Regions from separate parts of the Homo sapiens genome. Here all the other regions are linked to region 5. The links are contacts of gene promoters, found by promoter capture Hi-C in blood cells and fetal thymus (Javierre and others, 2016). All regions are on one chromosome and are shown on one strand. The core of a region is centred on a gene start or on the middle of the fragment in contact, and the rest is flanking DNA. Distances in the headings are between cores, read along the strand shown. Region 1 holds the start of DHRS13 (dehydrogenase/reductase 13). Region 2 overlaps PHF12 (PHD finger protein 12). Region 3 overlaps SEZ6 (seizure related 6 homolog). Region 4 overlaps PHF12 (PHD finger protein 12). Region 5 holds the start of BLTP2 (bridge-like lipid transfer protein family member 2).

Region 1 (4,770 bases), core at 20-2,519, 260 kb before region 5:
TCTGCCTGTCTCTTATCACCTATGAGAACCATTCCAAAGGCAAATTTCCTCCTGAAAGGCAATAACAGATTTTACTCTCTATCTCTTCCTGCTTCCCTTCAGCCATGGAAGGCACTAGTGGGGTTGAGGTAGGGAGATACAGAGGGGGAATGAAGGAGTGAATTCTGACACCCCTTAACTGCCTGTGCCACCTTTAACAGTGTCCTCTCTAGCCTGTGTGGGGAGAACACGGAAGAATCCTAGAAGCTGGGGGCTGGATGTGAAGATAAGAAAACGAAGGATTTGGCCCAGTGCAGAGGCTCACACCTGTAATCCCAGCACTTTGAGAGGCTGAGGCAGGTGGGTCACTTAAGGTCAGAAGTTTGAGACCAACCTGGCCAACATAGTGAAAACCCTTCTCTACTAAAATACAAAAATTAGCCGGGTGTGGTGTCACACACCTGTGATCCCAGCTACTCTGGATTCTGAGGCAGGAGAATTGCTTGAACCCGGGAAGCGGAGGTTGCAGTGAGCCGGGATCACGCCACTGCACTCCAGCCTGGGCAACGAGAGTGAAACTCCGTCTCAAAAGAAAGAAAGAAAGGAAAGAAGGAAGGAAGGGAGGGAGGGAAGGAAGGAAGGAAGGAAGGGAGGAAGGAAGGAAGGGAAGGAAGGAAGGAAGGAAGGAAGGAAGGAAAGGAAAGGAAGGAAAGGAGAAGGATTTGTGCAGAAGGGAAGGAAGGAGAAGGATTTGTTCTTAGAGGGAAAAGCATCTAGGACTAGACTCAAAGACACACGTGTATTCATGTACACACCTAACTTCAGAAGGGAGGGACTGTGCTACATACACCTCGAGTAAACATATGGAGATATGCAAGCACATGCACTGGCAGAGACTACAGATGCAGGCACATACCTGGAGGGACTCTGCCAGAATGCACACAAACACCTACAAGGTGCTTACAGGAGCTCACACACAGGATCCAGAGGCACGCACACAACCCAAAGGGTGATCCTCAGGGACATGGGCACATACACACCTAGAGATCATTCACATACAAGCGTTGCAGATGCATGCACATACCTAGCGTGCACTCACAGGGTGTACGTGGACACACACACCCAGGAGTTCACACAGGCACACACCTAGGGGGCGCTCCCAGGGCCCAAGCGCACACACTCACCTCAAAGGTGTCCACAGAGGCACACGCCCCCAGGACGCCGACGCACGCCTAGGGGGCGCTCGCAGGGCCGGCGCGCACCCGCACGCGCACACGCCCCTGCCCAGCCTCCTGCCCGCCTCCGCCTTCGGAGGCTGACGCGCCCGGGCGCCGTTCCAGGCCTGTGCAGGGCGGATCGGCAGCCGCCTGGCGGCGATCCAGGGCGGTGCGGGGCCTGGGCGGGAGCCGGGAGGCGCGGCCGGCATGGAGGCGCTGCTGCTGGGCGCGGGGTTGCTGCTGGGCGCTTACGTGCTTGTCTACTACAACCTGGTGAAGGCCCCGCCGTGCGGCGGCATGGGCAACCTGCGGGGCCGCACGGCCGTGGTCACGGGTGAGTGCGGAGGCGGGTGAGTGCGAGCTGGCGGGGCGCGCGGAGAGGAGGCCGGGCCGGCGGTAGCAGCGGCCCGCCGGGCTCAGCTCAGCTCGGCTCCCGCCCGCGGTCCGCAGGCGCCAACAGCGGCATCGGAAAGATGACGGCGCTGGAGCTGGCGCGCCGGGGAGCGCGCGTGGTGCTGGCCTGCCGCAGCCAGGAGCGCGGGGAGGCGGCTGCCTTCGACCTCCGCCAGGTGAGAGGCAGCGGGGGCGCGTGGGACGGTGAGCCGAGAACCCGCCGGGACACAGAGAAGCCAGCAAAGGGGCTGCGGAGGATCCGGGTCCAGGGAGGAGAGCGCGGCGCGGGCGGCTGAGCGCGAAGAGGGAGTGCACGGAGCGCTGGGGTCACCCGAGGAAGGCGCACCAGAGCCGAGTGGGGGAGGGGCTTCCTGAAGGCCGTAATTGCAGTTCTGAGACGTTTAAGCATCAGTAGAAGTTGGGTTAATGATCAGTAGGAAAGGGAACAGCAGAGGGCACAGCATAAGCAAAGGCTCTGAGGCAAAGAGAGCTGGACTGATCTGAAAAACTGAGAAAAAGATTTAATGAGGCTGGAGCACAAAGTATGAGGAAGATGGGCAAATGAGGGGGCTGGAGAACATTCTAGAGCCTATTGAGAAGCTTGGATTTTATAGATTGGGCAGCAGAGACCAGTGGAGACCATGAACAGCCCTCAGTAGGCTCCGGACTGTCAGAATAGCCTTTGGAAGGAACTCCTTTGTGGCTGCGTGGTGCCTGGAGTGGGGGGGCAAGAGCGGGAGAGAGGAGACCAGTGAGAAGTTACAGATTTTAGGGTAAATGGTAATGGGGAAAGGAGGTGATAATAATAATAGCAAGTACCTACCCAGTGCTGCTAGAGTGTATTTTACACGTTAACTCCTTTCATCCTCACAAAAGCTCAGTGAGATTGGGACTGTTGTTATTATTATTCCCTTTACGCAGTGAGAGAACTGAGACCCAGAGAGATTAAGTATCTTGCCCAAGGTCACACTTTAGTAAAAGGCAAAGTCAGGATTTGAATCCACACACTTATCTAGTACACTCTAAGACACAGGGGCAGATTTTAGTAAACAGTAGGAGATGGACTCTCAGAATTTGGTGCCTGGGGAGAGGGAAGAGGAGAGAGATGCCTGGTGACAAGCCCAGCCCTTGCCTCTCCACAGGAGAGTGGGAACAATGAGGTCATCTTCATGGCCTTGGACTTGGCCAGTCTGGCCTCGGTGCGGGCCTTTGCCACTGCCTTTCTGAGCTCTGAGCCACGGTTGGACATCCTCATCCACAATGCCGGTGAGGGGCAGCAGGCCCTGCGTGGGGGTGGGGTGGCGGGTGGCCAGGGGCAACTGCCCCCTCCAGCGGGGGCCCTGCTGGGGCCAGTGGACACATGGGAAGGATGCCCCCTTCTCCCATCTCATAGATAGGGATGCCAAGGCTGCAGAGCTCCTTCTGGAGCAGCCGCTCACATTTAGCCTCTGCCCCAGGTATCAGTTCCTGTGGCCGGACCCGTGAGGCGTTTAACCTGCTGCTTCGGGTGAACCATATCGGTCCCTTTCTGCTGACACATCTGCTGCTGCCTTGCCTGAAGGCATGTGCCCCTAGCCGCGTGGTGGTGGTAGCCTCAGCTGCCCACTGTCGGGGACGTCTTGACTTCAAACGCCTGGACCGCCCAGTGGTGGGCTGGCGGCAGGAGCTGCGGGCATATGCTGACACTAAGCTGGCTAATGTACTGTTTGCCCGGGAGCTCGCCAACCAGCTTGAGGCCACTGGCGTCACCTGCTATGCAGCCCACCCAGGTGAGGTCTGGTTCTTTGGCTTCCGATTCCCCTCTCCTTTCCTTGCCCCATCCTGTGCCCCCCACACCACTACCGCCTCCCCACCCTCCATCCCTCATTGAGTCACAGAATCTCAGGGCAGCAAGGAAGCATAGTCCAAGGAGAGACCTGTTCCTTGCTGCTCTTGGAACCAGGTTCTCCTGGTTTAGGTTCTTCCTCTCACACCACAAGCCTGGGTCCTCAGCCCTGGGGGGTATATGGCCATGAATAAGACCTGGATTCCCACCCCCAGGAGCCATCTGCACTGACTGAACTGATAATGATGATGATGATAGCTAATAATTCATCCAAGAAGCATTTACCGAGTACCTACTCTGTATCAGGCATTACTTGCAGTGCTGGGGATATAGCAGTGAACAAAACAAAGACCCTGCCCTCATAGAGTTTGCATTCTAGTTTGGAGGAGAGGGAGACAGCCAATAAATATATACGATGAGGGGTGGTGATAGAGTGCTCTGAGGAAAAAGGAAACAGCAAGGGGCAAATGGAACGGGAATATGGTGTGGCAGTCAAGGAAGACATATCTATAAAGGTGACATTTGAACAGAGGTCTGAAAGATACATGGCTCACTGGGGAGATGCCCAGAAAAAGAGAGAACAGTGCAAATAATAAGTGCAGAGGGGCTGGAAGCGGTGGCTCATGCCTGTAATCCCAGCACTTTGGGAGGCCAAGGCTGGTAGATCACTTGAGGTCAGGAGTTCGAGACCAACCTGGGCAACATGGTGAAACCCCATCTCTAGGCTGGGCGTGGTGGCTCACACCTGTAATCCCAGCATTTTGGGAGGCCGAGGCGGGCAATCACAAGGTCAGGAGTTCGAGACCAGCCTGACCAACATGGTGAAACCCCATCTGTACTAAAAATACAAAAATTAGCCAGGTGTGGTGGCGCGCGCCTGTAATCCCAGCTACTCAGGAGGCTGAGGCAGGAGAATCGCTTTAATCCGGGAGGTGGAGGTTGCAGTGAGCCGTGATCACGCCACCGCACTCCAGCCTGGGGGACAGAGCAAGACTCCATCTCAAAAAAAAAGAAAAAAGAAAAAAAAAAGAAAACCTGTCTCTACTACAAATACAAAAATTAGCTAGGCATTGTGGCTATCACCTGTAGTCCCAGCTATTCAGGAGGCTGAGGCAGGAGAATCGCCTGAACCTAGAGGTGGACGTTGCCAGTAAGCTGAGATCTCGCCACTGTACTCCAGCCTGGGTGACAGAGCGAGACTCTGTCTCCAAAACAGAAAAAAGTAAGTGCAGAGGCCCTAAGGCAGAAGTTCCTGGTGTGCTTGAGAAAGGCTAATGTGGCTGGAACAGAGTGAGGGGGGAGAGTGGCAAGAGGTGAGGTCATAGAGAGGCACTGTGTCCTGTAGGGTTTGGAGGG
Region 2 (4,126 bases), core at 660-3,159, 270 kb before region 5:
AAGAAGACACAGCATGAATTAGATCACAATGGTCTCGTTCCCTTACCCGTCAAAGTCTGCTTCACGTGTAACAGGTATTTTCTTTCATACTAAGGGGCTCTTTCTCATTATTTAGCAGATGATACTTTTTCTCTCATCACCTCTTCCAGACCATGTATGTTAAATGTGAACAGCCCATATTCTGATAGTATGAGTACATGGAGACTAACTAATGGACTGACGAGAGCCTTGAATGTGTATGTGTTAACAAATTTTCTGAAGAATCACAGTACAGGAGTACTGTGAACTGTGTTGAGGCCGAGCACGGTGGCTTATGCCTGTAATCGCAGCAATCTGGGAGGCCGAGGCGGTCAGATTGTTTGAACCTGGGAGCTTGAGACCAACCTGGGCAACACAGTGAAACCTTGTCTCTACAAAAAAAAATTTTTTTAATGAACCAGGTATGGTGATACGCACCTGTAGTCCCAGCTACTCCAGAGGCTTAAGCAGATTAGCCCTGGAGGCTAAACTGTGATCACGCCACTGCACTCCAGCCTGGTCAACAGAGCGAGACCCTGTATTTTAAAACAAAAACAAGGGGCCGGGCGCTGTGGCACATGCCTGTAATCCCAACACTTTGGGAGGCCGAGGCAGGCTGATCACAAGGTCAGGATATTGAGACCATCCTGGCTAACATGGTGAAACCCTGTCTCAACTAAAAATTCAAACAAACAAAAAAAAATTAGCCGGGCATGGTGGCAGGCATCTGTAATCCCAGCTACTCTGAAGGCTGAGGCAGGAGAATGGCATGAACCTGGGAGGCGGAGCTTGCAGTGAGCCAAGATCGCGCCACTGCACTCCAGCCTGGGCGACAGAGCAAGACTCCGTCTCAAAAAAATAAATAAAAATAAATAAAAACAATGGCCCGGTGTGGTGGCTCACGCCTGTAATCCCAACACTTTGGGAGGCCGAGGCGGGCAGATCATGAGGTCAGGAGATCAAGACCATCCTGGTCAACATGGTGAAACTCCATCTCTACTAAAAATACAAAAATTAGCTGGGTGTGGTGGCACGCACCTGTAGTCCCAGCTACTCAGGAGGCTGAGGCAGGAGAATCACTTGAACCCAGGAGGCGGAGGTTGCAGTGAGCTGAGGTCACGCCACTGCACTCTAGCCTGGTGACAGACCAAGACTCCATCTCAAAAAAACTGTGTTTACACACTAGAACAAGAGGAGTTGGACTTAAACTAAACATTAACTTGAATCACTAAAGATAAGTTTAAAAGTAGTATAAGGATCTATGATAGTGTGTATTGGACTGGATGACTTCCAAAAGCCCCTAGGGCTGCCCCAGTTATAGTCTCTGGGACACTGGTTTCCTTCAAATAGGATCTCTTTGACAGAAACCAGCTGCTTCAGTTACTGAAGCTGGACTTGTTGGCTTGGGTGTGTTAGAAGGACTGTATTATGGTCAGAGCAGGGTAGCAAGAGAAAGTAACTATCAAAAAGAAATGTTTCACAGCAAAAGGTATAGGGAAAGGGAACTAGATAGTAGAGTGGCAGAACTCTGAGCCAGGACAAACTGTGGCTCCAGTGCATCTTGGGGACCCCAGGAGTATTGTAGTTACAAATCGTAGTTGTCATTTGCTTAGTCCTCTTTTGAACCCTGCTTACATGAATACATTACAAAATCATCTTTCCAGCACACCTCTAATTGTCAGTTCTGCTGAGTGCTTCATGCAGAAGAGAAATATTTTCTTGCTATAGTTAAGACTCCAGAAAGGTTGCTAGTGATTTTTTTAATGAAGTAGGCTCTCTCTTTTAAGAAGTAGGAAGATCAGAGCAGAGTTCACTGTTTTCCCCTAGTGAGTACTGAGCATTGATCATCCCTACTCTGCCACTTTAGCTGTACTCCAAATAAACATTCACTTTCCCGCAAGACATGTTCTTCTTAGAAGAGAGAATAATGAAGAACCTAATGGGAGCCCCCAAATCCATCCATGTTGTTTTTTTGTTTTGTTGTGTTCTGTTTTGTTTTGTTTGAGATAGAGTCTCTCTCTGTCACCCAGGCTGGAGTGCAGTGGCGCCATCTTGGCTCACTGCAACCTCCGGCCTCCTAGGTTCAAGCAATTCTCCTGCCTCAGCCTCCCGAGTAGCTGGGATTACAGGTGCCCACCACCACGCCCAGCTAATTTTTTGTATTTTTAGTAGAGACAGGGTTTCACCATGTTGGTCAGGCTAGTCTCAGTCTCAGTCTCCTGACCTCAGGCAATCCGCCCACCTCGGCCTCCCAAAGTGCAGGGATTATAGGCGTGAGCCATCGCACCAGCCCCATCCATCTTTCTAATCATAAATGTAACTGAATCACTGGAGGAAGATAGGGGAGAATGTTAGGATCAAGGAGGGGAGAATGTTAGGATCAAGGAGGGGAGGCTGTTCCACAGGTCAAAGTTAGTTTGAATTTTCCTTTTCTTGCCACAGAAATGGCCAACATCTCTTTTTTGCAGGAGTTGCCGTGTGGCTCCTCTCATCCAGTGTGACTATTGCCCTCTCCTGTTTCACATGGATTGCCTCGAGCCGCCGCTCACTGCCATGCCCCTGGGCAGATGGATGTGTCCGAATCACATCGAACATGTGGTGGTAAGCACAGCAGTGTCCATTCAGTCCTCAATGGGCATAGCTGGAGCGTGGACTGATTAGCAGAAAGCATATTAAGGTCAGCTTGGTGCCAAGTTCACCACATTGTCATAGGTACTGGTTTCTGCAGGCCACCCTACTCAATTCTGATCATTTTGACATATTTCAGCTATGCTTTTTCTCACAATGTTTTGTTTCAGCTGCCCATACAGACTTAACTCACTAGTGCTTGGTTGTTTGTAAGTGACTTATAGGGAATTAAGCAGTTGATGTTATAGCCCTAAAAGGGGAGTATATTAGATCCAACCTTAAGGAAATAAATCGTTGGCTGTCTGGGGTACATGTGTCCCAGGCACCAAATGAAGTTTAGTAAATAAGCTGTTGAATGAATAATAGTGTGAAGGTCCTATTGCTTTCTCTTCCAAGAGTCTTGGGTTTATTTTCCAGACTGAGGCTAGAAAAGAGCTGTCACTTGCTATCTCCAAAAGAAGTTTAGGACATCTCTTTATAGGCAGTTAGAACAGTCACTCACAAGATTGAATGGGAGAGGATTTGAGGAGGAGGAGCTCCCTCATAAGAGCAGCCTTCCAAATTAAAAAGGCTACTGCTTAAGACATTGTCTGTCAAATGATGATAACCATGGAATGACCGTTGGCCTTCATGGCAGTGTGCTGCTGACCTTGCACTGAGAGGAACCTCGGTTAAAGACTTGCACACATGGAAGAGAAGAGTTACTTTGTGTTCTTTTGACTCATGCCAGTCAAAGATTTTTCTAGGAGGAAAATCTAGTCTTGTTTTGCTTCCTTGTTTCTCTCCTAGTCTTGTTTTGCTTCCTGATGAACCAGAAAAAAAATGACCATAAGCAGTTTACCCAAATGTGAAACTTAAAGAGCAGCTTTCTAGCAGTTGAGAAATTCTTAGTGGGTTAAATTTTTGTTAGCCACTTAAAGGTTTTTCCTGATTTATGAATTAGGCAGCTGCCACAGCAGGTCCTTTCTTTTGAATTAAAATGTAGGAGCCCAGATGTAGAATAGGAAAAGTGGCATAATTTCTGTATGCCTTCGTATATTATTGCAGAAACTCTTCTTTCTTTTCTCCTTTTGGCTTCTAAGAGCAATCCAAGGTTTTCCCTTCCAGTAGAGGAAGACTGATATCAAGATGGGTTAACTTATGCTCCTTGGTACCACGGAGTAGGAGTAGAGCAGAGCACACGGATTTCTGGTTCTGACCCAGTTGTCAGCCAAGCTCCTATGTAGGACACAGTCCTGCTTTTCCTATTAGAGAGAGGCCCTTCCTGGGAAGGGAGTGTGGGTCTCTTAAGGGTCGAAGCATACGTCTTCTCTGAAACCTGTGCTGCTATTAGAGGGCCCTGACAGAGGCTTCTCTGAGCTGGAACAGAAGACTGTCAGAGGCCGAATTTGGAAGGGCACGTCTTGGCTAATTTCTCCTGCCTTCCTTAAGGCTCTCTAGGGAACAGGAACATATTGGCTCTCTTCCACTGGACTGGGCA
Region 3 (4,327 bases), core at 1,026-3,525, 310 kb before region 5:
CAGGGGTGTGAAAGGTTAGGCGGCAGGATTCTGGAGCTCAGGCTGCCTGGAGATGCAGGTTCACAGGGCTAAAAGGTTGACCTTCAGGACGATGAGGGCCAAGATGGCAGGGAGGCAAGGTCCCCGCTGCTCCAAGCAGAGGATATAGGGCTGGGATAGGGAGGAAGGCATGTTAGGCTGCCTGGGTTCAGGCAGGGGCCTAGCCTACGTCCTGTCCTGGTCTTAACAGCTGCTTGCGGCGGAGTGATCCGCAATGCCACCACCGGCCGCATCGTCTCTCCAGGCTTCCCGGGCAACTACAGCAACAACCTCACCTGTCACTGGCTGCTTGAGGCTCCTGAGGGCCAGCGGCTACACCTGCACTTTGAGAAGGTTTCCCTGGCAGAGGATGATGACAGGTGAGGGGCTGTCCTAGTGGAATGGGAGTGCCTGGCCTGGTAATACCCTGCTGGAGGGACGCTACCCAAGCCTGGGGCCACACCCCATCTGGGTCAGCCACCAGCCTACATAGCTGCCACTCTCCTGGTTCAGGCTCATCATTCGCAATGGGGACAACGTGGAGGCCCCACCAGTGTATGATTCCTATGAGGTGGAATACCTGCCCATTGAGGGCCTGCTCAGCTCTGGCAAACACTTCTTTGTTGAGCTCAGTACTGACAGCAGCGGGGCAGCTGCAGGCATGGCCCTGCGCTATGAGGGTGAGCCTGCTGGGGCCTCACTGGGGGTGGCGGGTCCACGGGGATGGGCTCGGGCCTAGGGTCTTTCTCCCACACCCTACCCCTCTCTGCCTCCATGCTGTCACTCCTTCCAAGTCAGCCCCTGCTCACTCAGTACTTAGGCCCCCTTTCCCTGCCCCTCTCTTTGGGTCCGGGATCCCTACCACAGCTTTGCAGGAAACCTCTGCCTGGACCCAGGCCCTATGGTCCAAGGGAATAAATTCTCCAGATTTTGAAAAGCAAAAAAGGCCTCAACCCTTAAGAAAGAATTGCTGTAAGAGACATTCTAGAACCATTTATGCATGCATGCATTGATTAATTCATTCAAAAAACATGTATGGAGTACCTTCTGTGTACTAAGCACAAAACCAGGCAGTGGGAACAGGATGGTAATCAAGATGGCCTCCTGAGCATAATAGGGATGGATGCTCTTGGCTGTCCCTCCTCCATCACATTCCTGCTCCAACCCCAGGACATATATTTGTCATTCGTACCCAGGAAAAGAAAGGCTCTGGGGAGGGAAGTAGGGGGATGCTTGCCCACTGTGTTTAATACCAGTCAAGGCTGAGCTGGGCTGGGACCTGTGGTTTACAGCCTTCCAGCAGGGCCATTGCTATGAGCCCTTTGTCAAATACGGTAACTTCAGCAGCAGCACACCCACCTACCCTGTGGGTACCACTGTGGAGTTCAGCTGCGACCCTGGCTACACCCTGGAGCAGGGCTCCATCATCATCGAGTGTGTTGACCCCCACGACCCCCAGTGGAATGAGACAGAGCCAGCCTGCCGAGGTCAGTAGACACCAGTGGATGGGCCTACCGGGCAAAAGGCAGGGTCATACCAGGAGAATAGCAGCAGAGCCCGGGGCCACAGGGGCCCTGTGATATGCGTGGTTCAGGCTTCCTCCAAGGAGGAGGTGGGGGGTCCCAGCAATTTGTGGGCACTCCTGCGGGCAGATGGTAAGCAACACCATGGTAAGCTTGAAAAGACCCTTCTGGGCCTCCTCTGCCTTCCAGCCGTGTGCAGCGGGGAGATCACAGACTCGGCTGGCGTGGTACTCTCTCCCAACTGGCCAGAGCCCTACGGTCGTGGGCAGGATTGTATCTGGGGTGTGCATGTGGAAGAGGACAAGCGCATCATGCTGGACATCCGAGTGTGAGTGCCTACCGGGTCAGGCCGAGCCAACTCCTGAGGTCTGGGGATATCCCTTGTCCAGCCCATCCTCGGGCCCCCAGGCCGGCTCTGCCCTGACGCTCCTCCTTCACAGGCTGCGCATAGGCCCTGGTGATGTGCTTACCTTCTATGATGGGGATGACCTGACGGCCCGGGTTCTGGGCCAGTACTCAGGGCCCCGTAGCCACTTCAAGCTCTTTACCTCCATGGCTGATGTCACCATTCAGTTCCAGTCGGACCCCGGGACCTCAGTGCTGGGCTACCAGCAGGGCTTCGTCATCCACTTCTTTGGTGAGCTTGTCCCTACCCCACTCAGAGTGCAGACAGCAAGCCATGGCAAGCCAAAGAGGCTAGGGCAGTGAGGTGCCTGAATGCTGTCTCAGACAAGAGTAAGCTGGAAAAGCACCAGGGATCACCTGGAGGAAGCTAGTCCTGTTCTCCATCTGCCCTGAGGGAGAGCCAGAATTCTATAGTGGCAAGAGGGGTTTGGGTAGGCAGCAGAACAACTTTCTTTTTCTTCCTTTTTTTTTTTTTCTGAGACAGTTTCCCTCTGTCACCCAGACCATGGTGTGATCTCTGTTCATTGCAACCTCCACCTCCTGGGCTCAAGCGATTCTCGTGCCTCATCCTCCTGAGTAGCTGGGATTATAGGCACATGCCACCACGCCTGGCTAATTTTTTTATTTTTAGTGGAGACCGGATTTTGCCATGTTGGCCTGGCTGGTCTCGAACTCCTGGCTTCAAGTGATCTGCCCACCTCAGCCTCCCAAAGTGCTGGCATTACAGGTGTGAGCCACTGCACCTGGCCAGAACAACTTTCAAACAAAAATGGGGGAACTAAGGAAAGGTGCTGGCTTCTATCTTTCTGACAATCTTTCATAGAAGTGACGATTTCCCTCACCCTACCTGGCCCCATCTCTCAGGCCTAAGGAACTGGTCAAGGTGCTTTTGGAAGTAAGGCCAAAGCTTAAATGCTAACCCTGGAATCTAGGAGACAGAGCAATGTCAGGCAGTCAAGGAGGGGCCCTTGAGCAGGGAGGAATGGATCCCTGAGCCCGCCCAGGACAGTCTAGGTCCAGGACAAACTAGCAGGAGCCAGAGTGCCCTCAAGGTGAGGGGGACAGTCACTTTGGTGCTGGCCGAGGGCCTGCATCTTGTGCCTCTGTGCCCCCAGAGGTGCCCCGCAATGACACATGTCCGGAGCTGCCTGAGATCCCCAATGGCTGGAAGAGCCCATCGCAGCCTGAGCTAGTGCACGGCACCGTGGTCACTTACCAGTGCTACCCTGGCTACCAGGTAGTGGGATCCAGTGTCCTCATGTGCCAGTGGGACCTAACTTGGAGTGAGGACCTGCCCTCATGCCAGAGGGGTGAGTATACCTGTTCCCCACGCTCCCCTTCCCAACACAAACTCCAAACCTCTCTCCTGGATTCTGAACCAGACTGTAGCTGTTATTAGCTAGTATCTTCAAAGTTCCTTCACCTCTTATAGCCTCAGTTTCCTCATCTGTGAAATGGGGATGATACTTTTCATGGGGTTATCAGCCACGTACTCTAAGTATTTCATTCCTGGTAGATGGCCAATCAGTTTTTATCGAACCTAATAGATGGGAAGGGGACAAATGGGGGGACACACTAGCATAATGGTAGGGACAGATACGTAGGGGGTAGACCCATACGACATGAAGAAGTTAGCTGGCCTGGAACAAAGCCAGGGTGGATTGGCCTCTGCTTAGTTCTCCTTGGGCTACTTCTCCCCATCACCCCCTACCCATAGTGACTTCCTGCCACGATCCTGGAGATGTGGAGCACAGCCGACGCCTCATATCCAGCCCCAAGTTTCCCGTGGGGGCCACCGTGCAATATATCTGTGACCAGGGTTTTGTGCTGATGGGCAGCTCCATCCTCACCTGCCATGATCGCCAGGCTGGCAGCCCCAAGTGGAGTGACCGGGCCCCTAAATGTCTCCGTAAGTGTCAATTGAGTAGGAGGGAAAACCTCTAGCTGGAGATAAAAGATGCTGCCCTGGAGGCCAAGGGCATGACACCCTCACTGCACTCTGCCTGCTTTGTAGTGGAACAGCTCAAGCCATGCCATGGTCTCAGTGCCCCTGAGAATGGTGCCCGAAGTCCTGAGAAGCAGCTACACCCAGCAGGGGCCACCATCCACTTCTCGTGTGCCCCTGGCTATGTGCTGAAGGGCCAGGCCAGCATCAAGTGTGTGCCTGGGCACCCCTCGCATTGGAGTGACCCCCCACCCATCTGTAGGGCTGGTGAGTGCCCTGTCACCCCTCAAAACCCTCCCTGGCCCATAGAGCTGCTCTGGCAAAGATGTCCAATGTTTAGAACCAGAACCACCTGCCCATGCCACCTTCATGTTACCCTTGGTCTCCCCAGTCTCTGCCAGATCCTTCTGACCTGGCATCACCAAGACAAATGCTG
Region 4 (4,461 bases), core at 887-3,386, 290 kb before region 5:
TGTTAAAATTTGGCAATAGAATAGTACCCAGCTTTCCATACCTCTGAGACTCTTCCAGAATACAGAGTTGGCAGTTGTTGGTTCTTCCTTCCAATGGAATGTTCCCAAGAGTGTGAGAAAATTACCGTTGAGGCCAGAATTTTGTCCCTTTTCCAAAACAGGTGGGCTCTAGCATCAATCATGAGGTGAATTAATGAAGGCCCTTTTTAAAATGTTTGCACCCCAGCCCATCTTTCTTTGTAGAGAAGCCAGAATTGCAAGAATAGCCAAACCAGGCTAGTGATAGATCAGGCCCTTGAGACTGAGGCTCAGCTTGTAGAAAAGTTAGCAGAGGCAAACACCTGGTATAACTGTCAGTGCTCTACCCTCCCTGCTTCCTTTTTTCCCTGTACTAACTAGTAACACTCGTATCCAGGTGTCCTTTACCGGGAAGATGCCACCAGCCAGCTCTACATAGAAGGCGATAAAACTTGGGGGCACAGTCAGCCAGTTTAAAAGGATTGTTTGCCTGTGGAAGTGACGCAACTAGCTAAGTTTCTCAATGGGGCATTTGTAATGTTCTGGCACTTCATTTGTTTCCTTGTTAACACTCTCACTGAGGCTTTGCATGAGAAACCCAACAGTCCTTGTACCTTTTTATGTACTTTGTGGCATTAGTGGTGTTTGAGTCAGTAGCCAGGATGAAGGAGGATAAGGGATTAAGGTTGAGGGACCCTATGAATTTTCTCCTTCCATCTCTTTAATATCCTTCAATATAGCTATCTTCCTGCAAAAGACAGGCCATACTTGAAGAGAAAAGCTGATGCCCACACAAGTGTCCAGAGGAAGCTAGCTATTTCTGCTGACATTTACATTTCATTAAATGTTGTTCCCTCAAGGCATGCACTTTAAAATTTGGGTGTATTAATGCAACTTTTAATTTAAATTAAAATTTAAATTAAACTTTACCCAGCACCACTTAGCTTTTCCAGGACATAAGTTTGTTTTCGTTTATAAAAGGCTGGTTCTCTGTGCTCATGGCTCCCTTTATAGAGCAAAATGGCTGCTAGGAGGCTGAGACATGATTGTGGTCCTTTCAGTGATCACCTTCACTCCCCATTTTGGCTAGTATCAACACATTTTCTGAGCTGGATGAGGGCCGCAGGGCCAGTCTGAGGGAGAGTAGGCTAGTTCTGAGCATGTATTTATGTTTTGCAGTTTGTCTTACACAGTGAGACTAAATATAATTGCAGGATTTTTATCTGGTAGTGGTCCTCAGATGGATGGATGAGCCCCGTGAACTGTGAAATTAAAAATCAAAACTGCTCAGTCCTATTGTTTGCTTGCTGAACACCTCTTCCCCCACCAAAAAAAAGGGTGGGGAGGCATACAGATGATGATAGGGGCAGTGAACTCTTTCTTTTTAGTCCAACTGATGTTTTATTTTGACTGAAACTGAAACTGCTATAGATGGCTAGAGAGCTTCTGATTCCTGAAGAATTACGGGTTCTGACAAGAAAGACCCTACCAGTTCATGTGACTGACCTCTTTTGGAAGAGAACCTGCTTAGTAGGCTGTTGGTGTATTGTATATGGATATGCTATTTACATAGTGTTCCTGTTAAGTATTTGTATTAAATAGAATTATTTTGTTAATCCAGAAAGAGAAAATGGAGTGTACTTTTTCTTAAATATTTTTCATCTACTTGCTTTCTCTCCCTCTACCTCTCGCCTCTTCCCTTTGTTCTCTTATTCCCCCATCCCCCGCTCTCCCCTCCAATTCCAGACTGAGAAACTGCTTGTTCTGGATGGATAATTAACATGGTGCTGTGGAGCAACAGGTCCCACTGGTAGCGACTAAATCTGAAGTAAATGTTAATGTCGTGCAGGTTCACATGTATTAATAGGCGAGGGAGATGAGTGAGGTTAGACTCAGATCAACCACACTGGTATATGACTTGAAATAGATCCTCTTAATTAGAGCGCCAAGAACCATGACAACTACCAACATCTTCTACTTGCAGTGTTGAGCTGCAGCCTTATTAGTGAATGCAAGGCATTCTAAATTAAAACTGAACTTTAACCTCGGGCTGAGAGTTGGGATCATCTGGCTCTGGGCTTCGATTTGAATCTTTGAAACAGAAATCTGTCAGTATAGGCATTACAGTTAGCTGAGGGATGTATGTTTGTGGTTTTCTCCTTGATGACTCCAGAAATAGACTGATCTAGATAACCTTCTCAGCAGTAGAGATGGGCCATTTGGATTTGTTTATGGGAGTCTAGGTATGTTGGAGTCATGCTGAAGAGGTTGGCTTTAGGAATTGGTTTGTATGTTAATATTACTCTTAACACTTTGTAGGCCCTCTAGGCCTCACAGAGAGCCACACCAAACTGAGAAACATACCCTCCAATTGAATGTACAGTCTCTGAAGATTTAGGGCTTTACTGTTATGAACAGCTTTATAACTAACAGCATGTCTTTAAGATCAGGTAGTGGTTAAAATAGTGAGCTGGGGCCAGGAGTGGTGGCTCACACCTGTAATCCCAACACTTTGGGAGGCTGAGGAGGGCGGATCACTTGAGGTCAGGAGTTCAAGACCAGCCTGGCCAACGTGGTGAAACCCCATCTCTACTAAAAAGACAAAAATTAGCCCAGTGTGGTGGTGCATGCCTGTAATCCCAGCTACTCAGGAGGCTGAGGCACAACAATCTCTTGAACCCGGGAGACAGAGGCTACAATGAGCTGAGATCGCACCACTGCATTCCAGCCTGGGCGACAGAGTGAGGCTCCATCTCAAAATAAAAAAATAAAATAAATAAAATAAAATAGTGAGTTGTAAAAGCAGTGAACGGTCGCTTTCTGGCCAGGAATTGTAGGCCAGGGCCTTTTAACAAATGATCTGGTAGGAAATTTATCAACAGCAGTGAAAATGGGAAGATACTCTGCAAGAGCTCTGTCTTCATAGGGCACTGTCATCTCTGCCTATGGAAAAGAATGCATGTCTCATAGCAATGCAGGCTATGCTCTTTTGAAGCCAGAAAATAAAGTAGAGGTCCTTGGCTTGTTGGCTAAAAAGCTACCAGTTTTCCAAGACAAGCCAGTTCAGGTACAGAAGACAACTATTCCAGAGCTCACCATCCCAAGTACTCAGATAATTCTCAGAAGGAATCTAAAGGTTCAAACATGCTGGACACAGTGGCTTACGCCTGTAATCTCAGCACTTTGGAAGGCATAGGCGGGTAGATCACCTTAGGTCAGGAGTTCGAGACCAGCCTGACCAAGATAGTGAAACCCTGTCTCTACTAAAAATACAAAAAGTAGCTGGGCGTGGTGGCGGGTGCCTGTAATCCCAGCTACTCCAGAGGAGAATTGCTTGAACTCGGGAGGCAGAGGTTGCAGTGAGCAGAGATCGCACCATTGCGCTCCAGCCTGGGCAACAGAGCAAGACTCCATCTCAAAAAAAAAAAAAAAAAATAGAAAAGAAAAAAAGAAAGAAAAGAAAGGTTCAAACACTATTGTGCTCTAGACAGACTTAAACATTCATTTTCAGAAGAAATGTCTCCACTGCTAGAACCTTCCTTTTATCAGGTATTTTATCAAAATGCAGAAATATACCTGCTTCTGAAACTATGGCTTCCTCCTGAACTCCTCACGATCCTTAACTTCACTGTCTTTAAAGGCTCACTGGCTGAATTACCATTTGTTAAATAGCTCTGAATTATGAAAAGAGTAGGAAAAAATCGCATGTCACCTTCAGGTACCAAATGTCCAAACTTTGGGGCTCTTCATTGATTCTGGCATCCATAAGTAATTGAGTTTTATGTGGGTCTTTATGGTAAGAATCAGTTTGTAGTTGATTATGTATGTTCTCATTACTGCATGTCCTTTTCACCTTATCTCCAGCCCATGATCCCTAAAATCAAGAACCATGTCTGAAATACCAGCACTTAGCACATTGTCTAGCCTAAAATAAACATCCAATAATTTTTGAGTGGATGGATGATTTTGATCCTCTCTCCCCAAGGCTACTTTTTTTTTGAGGCGGGGTCTTGCTTTGAAGCCCAGGTTGGGGTGTAGTCGTGTGGACATGGCTCACTTCAGTTTTGCCCTCCTGGACTCAAGTGATCCTCCTGCCTCAGCCTCCCAAGTAGCTGGGACTACAGATGCATGCCACCACATCTAGCTCATTTTTGTATTTTTGTAGAAATGGGGTCTCACCATGTTGCCCAGCCTGGCCTCTAACTCCTGGGGTCAAGTAGTCCTCCCACCTTAGCCTCCCAAAGTGCTGGGATTACAGATATGAGCTACAGCCTGGCCTAGACTACTTTTTTGATGGGGTAGATGATAATTTGTTTGCTTTGCGTTCATTTTTCAGTGTGGTACCTAGTACATTGATGAGAAAGTCATGGGTACTCAATAAATATTGACTGATGTAGAAGGAAATGCGCAGCCTTGAGGTTAAGGAGGGTACCCTGATGGATA
Region 5 (4,219 bases), core at 1,127-3,626:
AGTGGTGCAATCTCGGCTCACTGCAACCTCCGCCTCCCAGGTTCAAGTGATTCCCCTGCCTCAGCCTCCTGAGTAGCTGGGACTACAGGCACCCGCCACCACACCTGACTAATTTTTGTATTTTTAGTAGAGATGGGGTTTCACCATATTGGCCAGGCTGGTCTTGAACTCCTGACCTTTTGTGATCCGCCCACCTTGGCCTCCCAAAGTGCTGGGAAAACAGGTGTGAGCCACCGTGCCCGGCCTGAATTCTTAAAACTAATAAATCATTTTGGAATAGGAATCCAGCTGTTTCTGACTCAGGTTTTTTTAAGTGCACTACGATTGTGTTTAGCTTTTGGAAAACAAATCCTGTTTTTTGGACAAACGTAGATATATCTCTCTAAAAAGGTGGATAGAAAACTACTTTTGTCCTCTGCCTACCTGATTTCCTCCTTTCCTGTGTCAATTGCAGAAAATTTGCTCCTGTAGCTTCCAATCATGGTATTGGTGAACGGAGATGGCTGCCATCTGCTGGAATTTCAGTGACTAGCAGGCTTTTTTTATTTTTAGAAACTTCCGGGTTTTGTTCTTTTTTTTTCTATTTGTTTTGTTAATGTTGAACATTTAGAGACACCATTTCTGTGCCAAACATGGCCCGTGACGTTAAAAGACTTGGTCTCTTTTACAAGGGCTTGTGGTCTCAATAAATGGAGGCCATGAATTAGTTGAGCCCCACTGTTGCCTCAACCACCCCCCACCCCCGACTCCCTGCCTTTATTCCACTTCACTTGTGTTGATCCCTTAAGATCTCTCCAGAAAGAAATAGACAAATCATAAAATCAACATTTTAGGCTATGAGATGGCTGGGAGTAGGGCCGGTAATAGTCAAGGGAGAAGGAAGGAAGTGACAGGAATCTTGGTTCAATAAACAGATTGGATAAGATGAACCAGAGTAGGGATACGTGTTGCACGGCACCCCTCCTTGACTTGGACAGAGGTTTTCAGTGAATTGGGCCTTCCCAGAGCATTCGGAGGACATACCCTGGGGGAAGGCTGCAGATGACGAGGAAGATGACGCAAATACAGTGCTTGAGAGGTAAGTATGACCTTGAAACAGCAGCGCTGGAGCTCTTGGGGAGATGTGAAATCACTGAAGAGAGGAATAGATAAGGGAGGAAACAATCAGAGGAGTGAAAGCAACTTCGGGCAACACACAGGTGAAAGATGAAATGGTGTTTTATCTGAGGGAGCCAAAAAGAGAGGCTCTGAGTAAAATCTTGAAGGATATATATGGAGATTAGGACGTGGGAGCGAAGGGGTATGAAAAGAGACATGACCTCCTCCATAATACTTATTTTGAAACCGTCAGGATTTCCTTAGCTTGTGCTGTATCAGTAGATCATCATTCAGATACTGATCCTTAGCACAGTAACGCTGAGGGACCTTTGTCCTGTTCTCTCATTTTACAGAGAAGGAAGCAGGCAAAACTATGTATTGTCTATTTTATGTAATTATGTTTGCTTCCCAGATAAACTACACAGAAGGAAGCAGGCAAAACTGACTATGTATTGTCTACTTTATGTAATTATGTTTGCTTCCCAGATAAACTATTTTTTGCTAAAGGGCAAGAACAATATTCACTACTTCTGCAGTATCTCCTCCTCTCCTCCATCAGGGCCCAGTTCGTGCCATAAGTAGATGGACCAGAACAGTGTTCAAACAGTAAATGAAGTAAAAACTCATTGGCCAGGAACCGTGACACGCGTCTTTAGTCCAAGCTACTCAGGAGGCTGAGGCAGGAGGATCCCTTGAGCCTGCAGGAGTTCGAGACCAGACTGGGCAACGTAGCGAGTCCTTGTCTCAAAGAAAAAAAAAACAAAACCTCATTAGTTTCCTCTGTGGATGGAATGAGGCGAGATTTTTGAGGCCTTTTAATTACCTCCTAGTTTCTGCCTCAGTAATTTTCAAACAGGATCTTGAATAAGATGGGAGTGCTACCACGTCTGACCAGGGGTGTAACTTCCGCAGAACCCTGAGTCCAGGCCTAAGTGGCTAGGCGGACTCCAACTCCCCTCAAAGTGAGCTCCCCGGACCGAAATGAGTCAGCCAGGTCCACCGCCAGCCCAGGTAGTGGGCCCGGACTCCGACCCCCGCGGGTCCCCGAGCCCCGCGGTTCCGGGCACCGTGGTGTGCGCCCGGGGCGTGTTTCAGCTCTTGGTCCGCTCCCCCTCGCCCTCCTCCCGGAACCACGCCCGCTCCTCGCGCACGCAGCCCGTCGGCCCTGCAGCGTCGTAGGACAGGGCGGGACTGGGGTGGGAGGCCGTTGGTTGGCTGGCGGGCTGCGGAAGGCGGGGCTCGTGTGCGCACCAGCGCGTCCTCGCTCAGCGTTGCTCCTGCGCGCGCAGCTGGTCGGCCCGCGGCGGTGCTGCGCGGATCCGGCGTCGGGGCCCGGCATGGCGGGGGCCGGGGCCAAGCCGGGCCGGACCCGGACCTAAATGCCTCTGTTCTTCTCCGCGCTGTTGGTCTTGCTGCTAGTTGCGCTTAGCGCCCTCTTTCTAGGCCGGTGAGGGTTCCCGGCCGCGCCGGCGGCGGCGGCGGCGGCGGGAGGGAGGGGGCGGAGAGGAGGAAGAAAGACTGAGGAGGGGGCGCGCGCCTTACTGAGGCGCGTGAGGCAGAGTGGGTAGGGTGGAGGGAGGGGGCGCGCGGCGAGGGGAGGGATCGTGAGGAGGCGCGTGGCCCGAGCTCCCAGGGATGGGCTGCGAGTTGGGGAGACTGAGGAAGCGGGCGGGGTCTGAGGAAATGCTGAGGCCAGGAACTGAATAGGAGTGTGAGGAAGGGGCCTGGTTCAGTGGCTTCCCTTTCCCCCTCCACCCACCCCTGCATGTCCCTTTCGCCAAGCGCGATGGGCACCTGCAGCATCGGTCTGGGGAGAACAGCATTCGAGCTGCCGGGTCTGACCTCAAAGTGCCTTCTCGTGGATACCTGTCTGGAGGGTGGGAGCAGGAGACAGACAGACCCTCTGGGGAGTGTGATGGCACATGTGACAGAGCCGCCTCCGCTTTGACTCTTGCTGGGGTCTTCTCTCTCTGCCTCTGGGATTCATAACAATTTGAGGGATTTTGTTTTTGTCTTCAACTTAGAGGGTGCAGTTTCTGGTTTCATCTGGGTGGAGGGGTCAGTCGGGAGCTAGGATCTTGATCAGCGTGGCTGAATGTATATGACAGAGTGGTGCTTTGGAAGAAAGGAGAGTTGCTCAGATCCAGTTTCAGGAACGACCTTTTGCAAGGCTTTGAAAGACCAGCAAGGGGTGAGGGAAACCATCATTGGAAAAAGGTCCTATGAATTAACAGGAATTTTTCTGCAGGTGGCTTGTGGTCCGGTTGGCCACCAAGTGGTGTCAGCGGAAGCTGCAGGCGGAGCTAAAGATTGGCTCCTTCCGCTTTTTTTGGATCCAGAATGTCAGTCTTAAGTTTCAGCAACACCAGCAAACAGTGGTGAGTTCTGGGAAACTCTGGATATGTGTGTAGGGTTGATCCAATTGAATTTAAACTCTTAATTTCCTTTTTTTAAAAATAGAAATCCTGGTGGCTTTTCTAGTTAATCCCAGCCTTGCCATTTCTTTGCCAAGATGATCTTAGAGCTAGTTGGAGAACGCTGCAAGTTGTTCAGTTAAAAATGTTTGTAGGACACAGAGTGTCCAGGGCACATAACAAAGATACAGAAGAAAGATAACAGGAAATCGAAGATTTTACTGTTCTAATTTAAGATGGGATTCAAGGCAACATGGCTATGAAAGAGAAATTCTAATAATCCAGAACATTTCCTGGCTTGTCAAGCTGCTCGTGGCTTATTTAGCAGCTAGCACACAGAGCTTTCTCCCTCACTGTTTTAGGAAATTGATAACCTGTGGATTTCCAGCAAACTCCTTAGCCATGATCTTCCGTGAGTACCCTATATTCTCACTTCTCCCCTAGAAGAGTACTTTGGAGTTGGTGTTTGCAGAGTGACACTCTTCTGCAGAGGCATCACAATCCAAGGAGGAAGGGAGGTTGTTGCTGAAGTCTTCCTGTTAGCCTGGGTGCCATTGTGTTGTGAGGAAGATATTGATAACTGCTATGAAACTAATCTCTGTGATTTGAGCTATATTTCTAGGAAGGATGAGAAAGTGAATGTGAGGGTGGGGAATAGACTGCTATGGGAGGGATGGACCTGGTGGCAGTGAGATTTCTCTTCTGGG

Evidence for each region. Contacts are between HindIII fragments. The CHiCAGO score rates a contact against its expected background, and 5 or more counts as called.
Region 1: a contact is called between the fragment with the promoter of DHRS13 here and the fragment with the promoter of BLTP2 in region 5, in 1 of 17 cell types (activated CD4 T cells). The highest score is 6.0, in activated CD4 T cells.
Region 2: a fragment that was not itself captured here is called in contact with the fragment with the promoter of BLTP2 in region 5 in 8 of 17 cell types (activated CD4 T cells, total B cells, total CD4 T cells and 5 more); the score reaches 14.7 in activated CD4 T cells.
Region 3: a contact is called between a fragment that was not itself captured here and the fragment with the promoter of BLTP2 in region 5, in 3 of 17 cell types (naive CD4 T cells, fetal thymus and activated CD4 T cells). The highest score is 5.7, in naive CD4 T cells.
Region 4: a contact is called between a fragment that was not itself captured here and the fragment with the promoter of BLTP2 in region 5, in 3 of 17 cell types (activated CD4 T cells, total B cells and naive CD4 T cells). The highest score is 7.2, in activated CD4 T cells.

The regions. Positions count from the first base shown.
Region 1 is chr17:28,899,578-28,904,347 of GRCh38, reverse strand. It overlaps DHRS13 (dehydrogenase/reductase 13), which reads left to right and starts at 1,269. Exons shown (of 5, transcript NM_144683.4): 1 at 1,269-1,530; 2 at 1,647-1,765; 3 at 2,732-2,855; 4 at 3,047-3,358. The coding sequence starts at 1,404. RefSeq lists silencers at 1,047-1,676, 2,178-2,370. The HindIII fragment of the contact is 5,010 bases long and covers 1-2,191 here.
Region 2 is chr17:28,917,636-28,921,761 of GRCh38, reverse strand. It overlaps PHF12 (PHD finger protein 12), which reads left to right. Exons shown (of 15, transcript NM_001033561.2): 5 at 1-74; 6 at 2,487-2,619. Among named protein-coding and RNA genes, the nearest start is that of DHRS13, 17 kb to the right of the region's middle. The HindIII fragment of the contact is 5,127 bases long and covers 1-4,126 here.
Region 3 is chr17:28,956,876-28,961,202 of GRCh38, reverse strand. SEZ6 (seizure related 6 homolog) reads left to right here. Exons shown (of 17, transcript NM_178860.5): 6 at 230-398; 7 at 532-698; 8 at 1,311-1,505; 9 at 1,731-1,869; 10 at 1,982-2,178; 11 at 3,062-3,256; 12 at 3,664-3,855; 13 at 3,961-4,158. The region is part of intron 1 of LOC105371716 (a long non-coding RNA gene); the gene reads right to left. Among named protein-coding and RNA genes, the nearest start is that of PHF12, 7.5 kb to the right of the region's middle. RefSeq lists enhancers at 1,254-1,754, 1,755-2,255. The HindIII fragment of the contact is 1,160 bases long and covers 1,696-2,855 here.
Region 4 is chr17:28,933,603-28,938,063 of GRCh38, reverse strand. The region is part of intron 2 of PHF12 (PHD finger protein 12); the gene reads left to right. The region is part of intron 1 of LOC101927018 (a long non-coding RNA gene); the gene reads right to left. Among named protein-coding and RNA genes, the nearest start is that of PHF12, 16 kb to the left of the region's middle. The HindIII fragment of the contact is 7,754 bases long and covers 1-4,461 here.
Region 5 is chr17:28,643,315-28,647,533 of GRCh38, reverse strand. BLTP2 (bridge-like lipid transfer protein family member 2) reads left to right here and starts at 2,376. Exons shown (of 39, transcript NM_014680.5): 1 at 2,376-2,545; 2 at 3,347-3,476; 3 at 3,875-3,924. The coding sequence starts at 2,478. RefSeq lists silencers at 1,990-2,219, 2,240-2,579. The HindIII fragment of the contact is 8,883 bases long and covers 1-4,219 here.